Regions from separate parts of the Homo sapiens genome. Here region 2 is linked to region 1. Evidence: promoter capture Hi-C in human tissues and cell types (Jung and others, 2019). All regions are on one chromosome and are shown on one strand. The core of a region is centred on a gene start or on the middle of the fragment in contact, and the rest is flanking DNA. Distances in the headings are between cores, read along the strand shown. Region 1 holds the start of LDB1 (LIM domain binding 1). Region 2 overlaps ARMH3 (armadillo like helical domain containing 3).

Region 1 (7,001 bases), core at 1,180-3,679:
TGGGGCATGTGCTGTCTCTGCCGGGCTGGGGGAGGAGGAGGAGCCCGGAGACAGCAGAACACAAAGGAGAGACTCAGACAGGCAGGCAGGCAGGCGGCAGGCGGCCTGCCAGGGCGCCTCAGCCCTCACCCCAGGGCTGCTCAAGGTGGGGGAAATCTTTGGGCCTGGACTGCTACATGCTGCCATGCCTTCCTTGTGTTCAAGCATGTGCTCCCCCATCCAAGCAAGCTGCAAGCCAGGTCCCCTCTCTAACCTCAACTGCTACTATTCCCCACCTCCAGTCTACTCTGAAGCCCTCCCCATGTGGTTCTCCTTGAAGTCTAACCTCCATCCACCCTCTTTGGCATCAATCTATAAGACTTCTTCATGATCTGGAAAAAGACTCCCCACTCTTCCCTATCTTTTGCCCTCTCTCCCTCAGTCAGACCACCAGACACAAAAGGAACATGCCTTCTGGGGCATTGACTGAAGTTGTCTTCCCACCCACCCACAAACCCCTGGGCTTGGGCCCTCTTCCTGTTCCCATGCTGCTCCCAGAGACTAAGAAGAAGAGATTTTCTCTCTCCTCCCACTGGACCCAGGCACCCTGCCCCAACTTCAGGGCCAACCTCCCATCCACCTCCAGCCTGACAACCCCTCCATACATACATACCCGCTTACCCACTATTTGTAGGAACTAAGAATCACAATTTAAGACTCATCCCTCTAGCTTGTTCAGATCCTTAGTTTAACTGCTCTGCTCATGTGTGTTGATGGAGGGTCAGGGCCCTGGGGTGGGCTAAGAACATGATGGATCTGAAAGGGGTACCCAGCATGGGTCAATTATAAAGGAGAAAATCCACAACATAAACATGTACACCAAGCTGGTAGAAAGAGGGACGACGGGGCCAGACAGGATTCCAGCTTGGCAAGCTCTTCCCTCTCCTCTCCCCAACCCTCTGCAGCAGGAGCCAGTGGTTCCCATACTCGGATATTCTAGGATTGTTAGGTTCTCTTATTCCTCCTTCTGGGACCCATGCCCCTTAGACATCAGCCTCAGCAGGCACCTGAAGTGTGTGCCCAGCCCAGCTTGGCCTGGGTCACATGATTTTCAAGGAAGCTTCCGCACTGGCAGCTTCCCTTGGGGATTTGTGGGGGAGTGGTGGGTGTCCAGCTGTGAAGTATGTAGCCAAAGCGGGCTACATTCAGGGACACTGACTTCCAGGAGAAAGCTGACTCCAGTCTGGGGCAGGAGGGCCAATTCCAGGACCCAGAGTCCCGGGGATGGAGACAGACAGTGTGCCGTGAGGCCCTCTGTAGACTACCTCTCCAGTCGCATGGCTTCTCTCTTTCCTCCTGGCAGTGAGGTAGACGCCCTCCGCCCCCCCCACCTGCCCCCCAGGAAAAAAACTCAGACCTAGGCTATCCCTGGCAAGAGCTGATATGTTTTGGGGAGGCAGGGATCTGAGCCTGGGTCCTCTCTCAAGTTCTCAGTTTTGGGTCAAGTATTGCTCCCCCAGCTTACCTCTCCACAAATCACTCTATTTCCTAGCCTGCCCTCCCACTAGGGCGGAGATGCCAGACCCAAGGGTCCAATTATCTGGCACCTCTTAGGAGTACCTCCGGTGCCTCAGGAGGGCCAACCTTCCCTGGCAACAGGCAGGAAAAGTTGAAGGTGGGGGGCAAGATGGGCCGCAATCAATACCTCCCTGCAAACAGGGTCCTCAGAAACAGCATGGGGGGGATGTCACAGGATAGGTAAGAGGCAATGGGCAGCAGGGAAGGGGGGGCAGCCCAAACCAGCCAATCACAACTCTATGGTGACCTGAGGGGGGGGGTCAAAAGTCCAGAGTCACTTCTGATTGGCTAACAACCTGGAATTCTGAGAATTTCAGCCCCCCCCAAACCTCTCCCCAATTAGCCTACCCCCAAAAAAACATACACATAAGCCACCCCCAGCGTCTCCTCCCCGTGTTTCTGGGCTGCTGCGCATTTACACAGTTGGGGAAAACGCTACCCGCCAGCCTGAGGCCCCGCGTAGCCCTTCCAGCCCCCGGCTTCCCCCATGCCATCGACGCCCCCCACACAAGTTCTCGCCAAACACGGGGTGAGGGGTCCGCAGGGACGGCTGGGCAGGAAGGGGCCGAGTGGCCGCACGCCCCACTCACCAGGACAGGCACAGCCCACTGACATCTTCACATCGCCCGCCTCTGGGGGCCCAGCCGAGTCACGGTGCCCGCCCCTCGCGGGGACAGGCCGGGCATGAGCCGCCGCCGCCGCCCGCGGCCCCCGCTGCGCTCGCCGCCGGCCCGGCCCGGCCTCGGCCCGGTGCGGGCGGCCCCTGGCTGCGGCGAGGGGCCTGTCAGGCGCGGAGCAGACAGGAAGGAAGCCAGGCAGGAAGGCGAGCGGCCTCTGCGTGTGTGCGCGCGGGTGTGAGTCCGCGGAGTGTGTGTCCGTGTGTGCGTGTGTGCGCGTGTGCGTGTGCGTGTCTGTGCGCTCCCGCCGCCGTCGCCGAGCGCCCCCCTCTCCGCCCTCGCGCTCGCGCTCCCTCGCGCCGGCGCCGGCTCCCCAGCCCAAGCCGGGCAGGGCCGGGCTTTATTAATATGCTAATTGTCCTGCTAGTGGGAGGGGAGAGCCGTGTCAAAGTGACCCGGGAGAGCGCGCAGCAAGCGACGACGTGCGTGCGCCGCGCGGCGGGCGGGCGGCGAGGGGCTGGGAGCGCTCGGGGAACGGCATGCATGTGACGCAGCTTTTAAAAAAGGAGACGGAGGCAGAGACCCCAGAGAGGGAGGGCGAAGGGGAGGGCTTGGAGGCGCAGCCGCGCGCTCGGTGTCCGTCCTCCGGGTGCCGCCGGATGGGGAGTCTGGCTGAGCCGGAGCGGGAGCCGCGGCTGGGGGAGGCGGAGCCGGGGTGGGCAGTGTGGTGTATCTCTCTCCACCCCGGGCCGCGCTCCGGGAGGGAAAAGGGACTGCAGACCCCCTGTCCGTGCTCCCTGCTGAGACGCCAGCCTTCTTCTGGAGGCCCCTTGTTTCGCGTCCCTACCCTAGGCTGGATGGGTAAAGAAGCATTCTCTTAATTCTTGTAGCAACCCCTCAACTCACCCCTTCCCTAAATTAACCACTCCTCCTTTGCCTGCGAAACCAGTTGGGACTAGAACTAAAAGGGTTAATTAAGTGGGGTCCCCGCCCTCCTCCGCCTAAGGGCTTGGGATCTGTGTTTTGCTGGGGGGAGGGGGCTGCGGAATGACCACCAGATTGGATTACGGAGGGGCGATAGGAGGCCATCCTTCCTTCTTGCAGACTGACGCATCAGTCAAGACACTCTCTTCCCTTCCCCCCTTTCTCCAGCCTTGGTGCCTTCACCTCCGTACCAACCGCCCAACCCCACCGCCTCCGACCCCCCTGCCTGGAAGCTGCTGTCCTTTGAGGGCTTCGGAGATGAGAACAGGAAACAGGCCCCTCCAGTGCCCCCTAACCCAGAGAGGCAGAGGCTGTGGGCCGTGGGGGGTTGGATGGGAGATGATGTGGATGGTCAATGTAAGGAACACTCCTTCCCCTGGGAGGAGCCTCCCAACCTTCAGTCACACTTCAAGGACTCCCCAACCCAGCCCTAGGAGGGGAGGGGCTCCATCTCCATCCCTTCCCAAAAGCTCAGCTTTAGCTGCCTCATAAACAGGAAATACCTATTAGCCAGGAGGAGGGAAGGGAGGGGAGCCGCCTGGAGTAGAGAGTTGACCCCCTCCCTCCTGGGGTCCCCAGCTGCTAGCTTTTCTTTCTTAAGTTTCAGTATGGGCTCCAGGGATAGACGATGGAGACTTGGACTAGTGTCTCCTCCCTAGGGCGTCTGGCCCTGACTGGGTAGGGGGTTCTCCTCTTTGTTACTTAGAGGGGTGTTGGTTGAGAAGGCTGTTTGGTTCCCTCACTCTGGCTCAGAGTCTGCACAGCTGGCTTGACTGGCTGGGGGAGGGTTACAAATGCGGAGGCTTAAAGTGTTTATGAGACCTCTTCTCTCCACCTTAGGTTTTTGCTGAGGGAGCATGAAATGATGGAACGGTGCAGAGTCCAGGGATTGAAAAGAAGGCCTGCCTAGGAATGGAGACCCTCCCCACCATGTGCTTAGGATGGGGGATAGGGGAGCTTGTACACTGTGGAGTCTCCCACCCCCAGGTTTCCCCATCTCCACCCCCACCAGGAGCAGAGAGGACCTGACTGAAGCCATCCACACTCACACAAGTATTTCCTTGGCAGCATCCCCTGCCTGAGTGCACCCCCTCCCTGCATTCTCCCAGACAAAGGTCAGCACTAGAGGGAGTAGAGAGAACATAAGGCAACAGAACACTGGCCCGAAATTGTGGATACCTAGGTTTGAACGCAAGATTCGCTCCTCAATACCTGAGTGATTTGAGACAACTGACCACCCCACCTGGGACACTAGCTTTATCCTCTGTAACCTATGGCTTGGTGAGTATCAAACTAGACAATGTACACCCAGTCACGTAGCCCAGTGTCAGCCAGGCAGTCCTGTAAATACGTGTTCTTTCTGCCCTTTTTTTTTTTTTTTTTTTAAGATTATCCAATTCCAAGAGAGGAGGGGGCTGGATTGGCAGGACAATTTGAGATGGTTTGGAGGAGGGGGAATACCTACCTTGACCTCCTTCTCTCTTTTCTGTCCATGAATTTGCCTTCCTCCAATCCTGTGACCACTTACGCCTAAGGCCACTCATTCCAAACAACTAGCTTGGTCAGATTCCATGCTGACCAACACAATGGTGATCATCTGGGTGGACAGGGGGACTACAACCCACCCTATAAAGGTCTTTGCCTCCTGTGAATCTGAGATTTCCCTCTCCTAGATTACACATGTGGAAGGTAGAAGCTTAGGAAGGAAGAAAAAACTGCCTTACTTGAGCATGCACTAATGCCAGGCACTGCCCTAGGCCTTTTACACTTGCCGACTCATTTACCTTTCATGAGGACCTTTGGAAGAAGGTGCTATTACCTCCATTGAACAAGTAGGAAAACTGAAGTTCAGAGATGATAATAAATTTGAACTTGCCTGTAAAACACTGTTCTCCCTCTTCTTCACCTACTAGTTAATGCTTCCTTAACACCTTAGTTCTAGCTTCACCTTCTCTGGGAAGATTACCCTTCCCACTCCCACTGACACTATAGCCCAGTTACCGGTAAGGAAATACCATCTCAGTACTGTTGAATGGGTGGTTAAAATAAGTGATTGGGGCTCCTACAGGAACTCCATTTAGGCAAGTTAGTTAACTTTGCCAAGGTAACAGAGCTAACAAGCACTTGACCCATTGCTCCACTCCTTGCCTTACTTCTAGTGTGGATCAGACCTGGGGAGGGAGAAGAGAACATCTTTGGAGCATCTCTGGGAATTGTGGTATAGGCAAAAATGGGAAGAGAGGTCACAGACACCTGGCAGACAGAAGGGATGTGGTAGGAAGGGGGTGGAGTCTATGTGGAGGGGGGGTCTTTAACTTAATGACAATGTCCTGGAGGACTGGAGGCTTAGCTGATTTGTATGGATGGGTGTAAGTGCCCAGTATTCTCTCTCTCTCCCTCTGTATGTGTGTGGTAAAATTCACATAACATAAAATTAACCTTTTTTTTTTAGACGGAGTCTTGCGCTGTCGCCCAAGCTGGAGTGCAGTGGTGCAATCTCAGCTCACTGCAACCTCCACCTCTCCAGTTCAAGCAATTCTCCCTACGCCTCAGCCTCCTGAGTAGCTGGGATTACAGGCACCTGCCACCACGCCTGGCTAATTTTTGTATTTTTTTTAGTAGAGACAGGGTTTCTCCATGTTGGTCAGGCTGGTCTGGATCTCCCAACCTCAGGTGATCCGCCCACCTTGGCCTCCCAAAATGCTGGGATTATAGGCGTGAGCCACCACGCCCGGCCTTTTTTTTTTTTTTTTTTTTTTTTGAGATGGAGTTTCGCTCTTGTTGCCCAGGCTGGAGTGCAATGGCGCAATTTCAGCTCACTGCAACCTCTGCCTCCCGGTTTCAAGTGATTCTCCTGCCTCAGCCTGCTGAGTACCTGGGATTATAGGCATGCACCACCATGCCTGGCTAAAAATTAACCATTTTTAAATGATCAATTCAGAGGCATTCTAGCTTTTTATTTTTAAACTTTATTCTTTTTTTTTTTTAGACAGAGTCTCGCTCTTGTCGCCCAGACTGGATTGCAGTGGCACGATCTCAGTTCACTGCAACCGCCGCCTCCCAGGTTCAAGCGATTCTCCTGCCTCAGTCTCCTGAGTAGCTAGGATTACAGGCACCACCACCACACCTGGCTAATTTTTGTATTTTTAGTAGAGATGGGGTTTCGCCATGTTAGTCAGGCTGGTCTCGAACTCCTGACCTTGTGATCTGCCTGCCTTGGCCTCCCAAAGTGCTGGGATTACAGATGTGAGCCACCGCGCCCGGCCTTCTTTCTTTTCTTTCTTGTTGAGACAGTCTCACTCTGTTGCCCAGGCTGGAGTGCAGTGGTGCAATCTCAGCTCACTTTAACCTCCGCCTCCCGGGTTGAAGTGATTCTCTTGCCTCAGCCTCCGGAGTAGCTGGGATTACAGGCGCGCACCACCACACTTGGCTAATTTTGTATTTTTAGTAGAGATGGGGTTTCACCATGTTGGCCTCCAAGTGATTCACCCGCCTCGGCCTCCCAAAGTGTTGGGATTACAGGCGTGAGCCACTGTGCCTGGCCATTTTTTTTTTTTTTTTTTTGAGACAGAATCTTGCTCTGTCACCCAGGCTGGAGTGCAGTGATATGGTCATAGGTAACTGCAGCCTCAAACTTCTGGGCTTAAGCAGTTCTCCTGCCTCAGCCTCCCAAGTAGCTAGGACTATAGGTACACACCACTGTGTCCAACTAACTTTTTTATTTTTTGTAGAGACAGGTTTCTTGCTGTTAGCCAGGCTGGTATTGAACTTCTGGCTGGCCTCAAGTGATCCTCCTGCCTTGACCTTCCAATGTGCTGGGATTACAGACATGAGCCACTGCCT
Region 2 (6,402 bases), core at 2,940-5,439, 110 kb before region 1:
ATCACTATTTTCCAGCAATGAAGACCATGTACACAAGGCCCCAATAGTTCATCTTGTCAAAGCTTCAAAATATTAATGTTGCTCTTTGATGCTAGCTGCCTGCCACACCTTTGACTTCCTGAGCCCCCAAAATAGCTATGGCTTACCTTTGGTGTCCTGCATGACAATTGAGCTATACTTTAAAAAGGTTATCAGTAGATTACTGGTCTGTACATCTGCATCCAGTGGGAGTTCCACAGAACTTATAACTGGAATAGAACAGATAAAATGCACTTAGCCTGCAACATATTCCATCTAACACTTCTACCCACATAGCCAATTTGCCAGCAGGCAAAAAAATCACTAAATAAGCTTTTTCCACAACAGAGGGAGGACCAAGTGCTCATCACAAAACTTTTATCTACTCTTCCTAAGCCTGTAGAGCCCCCTTCCTATTCCCCAAATTAAGCCCAGTGACCTGCTCTCCTATCTAGGGCCAGTCTCCAAGAACGGTGCTTTTTCTCCCAACATCCTGGGAAGGGTATGTTGATTCCACTTCCTGCCCCAAGTATCCCCAAAGAGTTTAAGGCCCTTCTTAAAGAAACTTCGATTTCTACCTGAAGGAAAGATCTGTATTGAATATAAATGAGTTTTACTTTGATGGGTCTCCTGCTTGAAATCAGTGAAGATTCCTCCCTAACAAGGAGAAATCTTGCTGAATTTTGAGAACAAGTCTTTAGGCTGGACGTACCCATGATAGAGAGGGGAAAATGTTAAGGCAGAACTATATTCAAATTCTACCACTATTAAGTGGCAGACTTCCCTTCCCCGCTTAAGGGAACTGAAAGTAATAGTAGACTGAAAACAGATGAACAGGTCAAGCGCAGTGGCTCACGCCTGTAATCCCAGCACTTTGGGAGCCCGAGTTGGGCACATCACCTAAGGTCAGGAGTTCGAGGTCAGCCTGGCCAACATGGTGAAACCCCATCTCTACTAAAAATACAAAAATTAGCTGGGCATGGTGGTCGGTGCCTATAATCCCACCTACTAGGGAAGCTGAGGCAGGAGAATTGCTTGAAACCGGGAGGCGGAGGTTGTAGTGAGCCGAGATGGCGCCACTGCACTCCAGCCTGGGTGACACAGCGAGACTCTGTCACAAATAAATAAATAAATAAATAAATAAATAAATAAATAAATAAAAACAGATGAACATTACTGATTGGAACAGCCTGGGAACTGAGTTTTACATACCTAGCTGATGTTTCTAAGAGAAATCCCCCACCCAGTTCTCTGAGCCACAGTCCCAATGAACAATGACAGATAATTGGCCTCTAATGACCAGGGCTGACCACAGAACACAGTATTTTCTTTTTTTTTGAGACAGAGTCTCGCTCTGTTGCCCAGGCTAGAGTGCAGTGGTGCCATCTCAGCTCACTGCAACCTCCGTCTCCTGGGTTCAAGCAATTCTCCTGCCTCCGCCTCCCAAATAGCTTGGATTACAGGCACCCACCACCATGCCCAGCTAATTTTTGTATTTTAGTAGAAACAGGGTTTCACCATGTTGGCCAGGCTGGTCTTGAACTCCTGACCTCAAGCAATCCACCCACCTCGGGCCTCCCAAAGTGTTGGGATTAAGGCATGAGCCACTGTGCCTGGCCCAGAACAAAGTCTTAATGTAGGCTTCCCAAAATTCTAAGACTTTAAATTAGACTCAGACCTCTTGTTAAGTGCTTTTACACTGCCTAAGACACAATATATAAGTTAAAAGGAGTCTTATAATGGCCCAAAAAAGCTAGAGAATCTATGGCTTTCTGCTACATTTTCAGCCATGAAGACTCAGTTGACTTTGGGATATTACTCATAATATGTATTCATAACCATAACAGATCCCTCTGGAGTTATTACGACATATGCAGAGAACATTTATGAACAGTGAGAAACATTTGCATTTTATGAACCCATAATAAACAGCAAGCACAACAAAAAGCCTTATGAAAAGAAATCAGCATGCCCAACCCCTGGCTATTTTCCCAGTTAGGCCTCCAAGAGCTAATATAAGACAAATATATTTTTATGTTGAAATACTAAAAGGTTTTAATTCATGTTATGGGTTAATGACCCAAGACTGTCATTTCAAACCACAGCCTGTTTTGAAGCTCAGAACCCGTAATCATCCCTTTGTCCAATACAAGGAGGCACCTAACTGGTAAGTGGGGCTTTTTTCCTGCTCATACACAGCAATAACTGGAAAACTATCTTATATAATATGTAGAAATATAGAAGTATATGTATTTTTAGTTTACCAGAAAGTCCTCTCATGCCAAGGCTGAGTTGTCAAATGTCAAGTCTGAGCTGAGAACAAATGTTATAGCTAAACTGCCGGCTTTTAAAAATATGGCTCTGGTGACATACCTTTAAATATAAGTGGGCTACTGAACACCACTATAATTAAGATCTAAAAATTAAAAACAAGGTTGTAATACTTAGGAACCCTACAGAAGGAAATGAGTTAGGAGACAGGGAAAAGAACAAATAGAACAGAGACAGAATAAAATCCCTCACAAATTAAAATCTTCTTCCTAAGGAAGAGTCATTCCTTGATCTTTGGCTTCATAATTCTTCCCAGCAGCTTTTGTCAAGGGAGACAGTCATTTGAAAGTGGGCTGACTTGATCTTCCCACTAGAAAAAATAAAAGCTCACTGGTTGTAGGTAAGTAAGCACAAATCCTACCATTGCATAATCAAGTGTGTGGGTGGAAGTGTTCACAATGAACAGTTTGAAAGGCAGTTCTCTGAAGCATCCAAACCCCAACATCACATGGAACTCATATATATATATATGGCTTTTGATATCCATGGTAACCAGGCAGGGTTCATTCTTAAAGAGAAAGTACTGTATTTCCATTGGGTTATTCTGTGGCCTGAATAAACAGAGACAAGTAGGCAATCCTTACTACTTGCTCCTTCTCAGTAAGATATTTTGGGGCTGGGCATGGTGGCTCATGGGTGTAATCCCAGCACTTTGGGAGCCCGAGGCAGGCGGATCACCTGAGGTCAGGAGTTCGGGACCAGCCTGGCCAATACAGTGAAACCCCATCTCTACTAAAAATACAAAAATTGGCCAGGCGTGGTGGCTCACGCCTGTAATCCCAGCACTTTGGGAGGCCGAGGCAGGCGGATCACGAGGTCAGGAGATCGAGATCATCCTGGCTAACACTGTGAAACCCCATCTCTACTAAAAATACAAAAAATTAGCCGGGCATGGTGGCACACACCTGTAGTCCCAGGGAGGCTGAGGCAGGAGAATCACTTGAACCTGGGAGGTGGAGGTTGCGGTGAGCTGAGATCGCACCCCTGCACTCCAGCCTAGGCAACAGTGCGAGACTCCGTCTCAAAAACAAATAAATAAATAAAAATAAACATACAAAAATTAGCCGGGCATTGTGGTACATGCCTGTAATCTCAGCTACTCAGAAGGCTGAGGCATGAGAATCGCCTGAATCTGGGAGGCAGAGGTTGCAGTGAGCCGAGATCACACTACCACACTCTAGCCTAAATGACAGCAAGACTCTGTCTCAAAAAAAAAAAAAAAAAAAAAAAGATATTTTGGGATTTGGCTTTCAATTCTAAACAGATCCAATTTGCTACCATATATATAACTAACAATGGCACCTCCCTGTCATAGTTCTGTACTGTTTATACTGCCTGGAAATGTTACTGCCACGGGTGGTATATGAAAACTTAAAGGAGAGAAAGAATAAAGAAGGTCATTTCACGTACAAACAGTGGGGAGGCAAAAAGAAAGTATCAAAGTTGGATTGTCTGTACTTCTTTACCAAAACAAGGTCAATCTTTGAGCTACAACATCAAATATTAACATAGATTGTTTTTAGGTTACAATATTCCACCAAACACACTCAGCCTATAATAGACCTCAAAATTTTTGGCAAAAATTCATAATTTCTTTTCTGTTGCCTTTTTCTTAGGTTCCAGCCATAAGATTTATGAAGGGGAAATTTTCACCGTTGTTGTCTTGAGGGAGATAAATCTTACGTATCCACCAAACTCCCAATTATAATACACTCAAAGCCTGTCCTTTCCAACTGGGAGTGGCTGATAGACACATAACAGTGAGTGAGTGCCAGGTTCACATTCTCATTCATTTATTCAACAAATATTTATTAAGCAAGTACCATGCTGGGCACTATGCTAGGCATTTAGTAGTAAACAAAATAGACAAGATCCTGCTTACATGTTTGGGTTCTCAGTCTCTACTCTCACTAATCTTAGGCAAACTGCTTCATTTCTCTGGCCTTAATTCCCTCATTGATCAAATGGTAACATCAGATAACATTACTATTTTACATTCATTTCAGTGCTTTATAATCACAAGGTGACATTTTTCACAAAATATCTCATCTGAGCCTCACAAGGACTCTGAGAGTGTGGCAGGACAGGCATTACTGACCTTGCAGGTCTAGCACTCCATGCCTCTACAACTACTCCCTGAGGAGGAAAAGCTAGAGTTATGTAAGCTTCTTTTACAGAGAAAATCACTGGACTGTCTTTTTCCAAAGTTTTCTTTGGAAATTTAGGAGGCCTGAAGGATAGTACTACAGACCAATTTAGTGGGAAAAATTAACAACTACGTAGGTTCTTTGTTGAACACAGCTATGCTCACTCTGAGAGATCTAAGATCATATTAACCAAGAAAAACAAAGTGGTGGTGGGCTCACCATCAGAGGAAGGCGGTGTGGTCCCAAGTGGTGTGACTGGGGTTGTAGGAGCAGGACTGACAGGGGTCGTCACCAAGCCCATTTCTGGATGGCTCTGAAAAAGATACACAGATGTGTAAGAAAACAGAAAATCCAGTTCTCCCTGAGTATCAAGTGCCTAATACCAATAAGGACTGGTATTCTGGACCTTATAATTTTTTTTTTTTGAGACAGCATCTTGCTATGTTGTCCAAGCTGGTCTCGAAATCCTAGGCTCAAGCACTCTCCTGCCTCAGCCTCCTGTGTACGTAGGACTACAGATGCATGCCACTGTGCCCCTAGTCTCATAATTAGAAAGCTCACTGAGGCTGGGCACAGTGGATCACACCCATAATCCCAGCACTTAGGGAGGCCTGGGCAGATCACAAGGTCAGGAGATCGAGACCATCCTGGCCAACACGGTGAAACCCCGTCTCTACTAAAATACAAAAAATTAGCCAGGCATGGTGGTGCATGCCTGTAGTCCCAACTACTTGGAAGGCTGAGGCAGGAGAATCACTTGAACCCAGGAGGCGGAGGTTGCAGTGAGGTGATATCACGCCACTGCACTCCAGCCTGGTGACACAGCAAGACTCTATCTCAAAAAAAAAAAAAAAAAAAGAAAAAAAAAGCTGAGAAGGGACTACTTCTGTATTTCGTTCTCATGAGTACTTGATTACGACTGATGCTTGCTAATCTCTAATAAGCTCTGTGTGCTAATTTATCTTAAGCAACTAGGTTCCCATTACATAAGTTTTTCTGTGGCACCACAGACATTTAAAAAAAAAAAAAAAAACTGGGGTCAACAAATATACAGGATTATTCTACAAGAGAGCAGAGAACATTTGCAATCCCATCCAGACCTGGGATCTCATCAGATCAACCTAAAACACATCAATAGGCTGTTCTGATAACCAAATAATTGACTAGCAGATGTAGATGAGTCAAGGGGATACCAGGTACTATAAAAAGAGCTATTCAGCCGGGTGCGGTGGCTCACACCAGTAATCCCAGCACTTTTGGGAGGCCGAGGCAGATGGACCACGAGGTCAGGGGATCAAGACCATCCTGGCTAACACAGTGAAACTCTGTCTCTACTAAAAAAAAAAAAAAAAAAAAAAAAAAATTAGCCAGGTGTGGTGGCAGGCACCTGTAGTCCCAGCTACTCGGGAGGCTGAGGCAGGAGAATGGCGTGAACCCGGGAGGCAGAGCTTGCAGTGAGCAGAGATCGTGCCACTGCACTCCAGCCTGGGTGACAGAGCGAGACACCATCTCCAAAAAAAAAAAAAAAAAAAAAAAGCAAAAGAGCTATTCAGATGGCGGCCTTCCTGTTCCACAACAAACAAAAGTGTGTGTGCCTTCATTGGGAGGCAAAGACATGGTGAGACACCCAGTAGGGACCAAAACAGATGACTCTTCTGTCCCTAACCTTTCTTAGCCATCCCTCCCACATCAGCTCTTGAGAATTAAGCTGAGTGATAGCTGTTTTTAACTTCCCTTTTCTTCCCTAACAGCTTTACCAGCACTTTACCTTCCTCACCTCTTCCTTTACAATCAGTTATAGGATTTGGAGAGCAGATAAGAAACGAGTGAAAATAATAACTAAAGTCTCTATGTTATCAGTCATGAAAACTCTTAAGTGTTCTATGAAGCAGATCTCAAACCAGCA

The links. The method cuts DNA at HindIII sites, captures the fragments that hold promoters and counts their contacts. A contact is called where the count stands out against the background at its distance.
Region 2: a contact is called between a fragment that was not itself captured here and the fragment with the promoter of LDB1 in region 1, in 4 of the 25 tissues and cell types used here (IMR-90 fibroblasts, heart left ventricle, lymphoblastoid cells and 1 more).

The regions. Positions count from the first base shown.
Region 1 is chr10:102,117,939-102,124,939 of GRCh38, forward strand. It overlaps LDB1 (LIM domain binding 1), which reads right to left and starts at 2,430. Exons shown (of 11, transcript NM_001113407.3): 1 at 2,148-2,430. The coding sequence starts at 2,172. It also overlaps a transcript of PPRC1 not described here. RefSeq lists enhancers at 1-610, 2,316-3,067, 3,068-3,819, 3,820-4,569 and silencers at 2,070-2,139, 2,230-2,309, 2,370-2,669, 2,690-2,819. The HindIII fragment of the contact is 10,982 bases long and covers 1-7,001 here.
Region 2 is chr10:102,001,825-102,008,226 of GRCh38, forward strand. ARMH3 (armadillo like helical domain containing 3) reads right to left here. Exons shown (of 26, transcript NM_024541.3): 14 at 4,716-4,809; 15 at 147-248. Among named protein-coding and RNA genes, the nearest start is that of ARMH3, 51 kb to the right of the region's middle. RefSeq lists a silencer at 2,702-2,751. The HindIII fragment of the contact is 7,966 bases long and covers 207-6,402 here.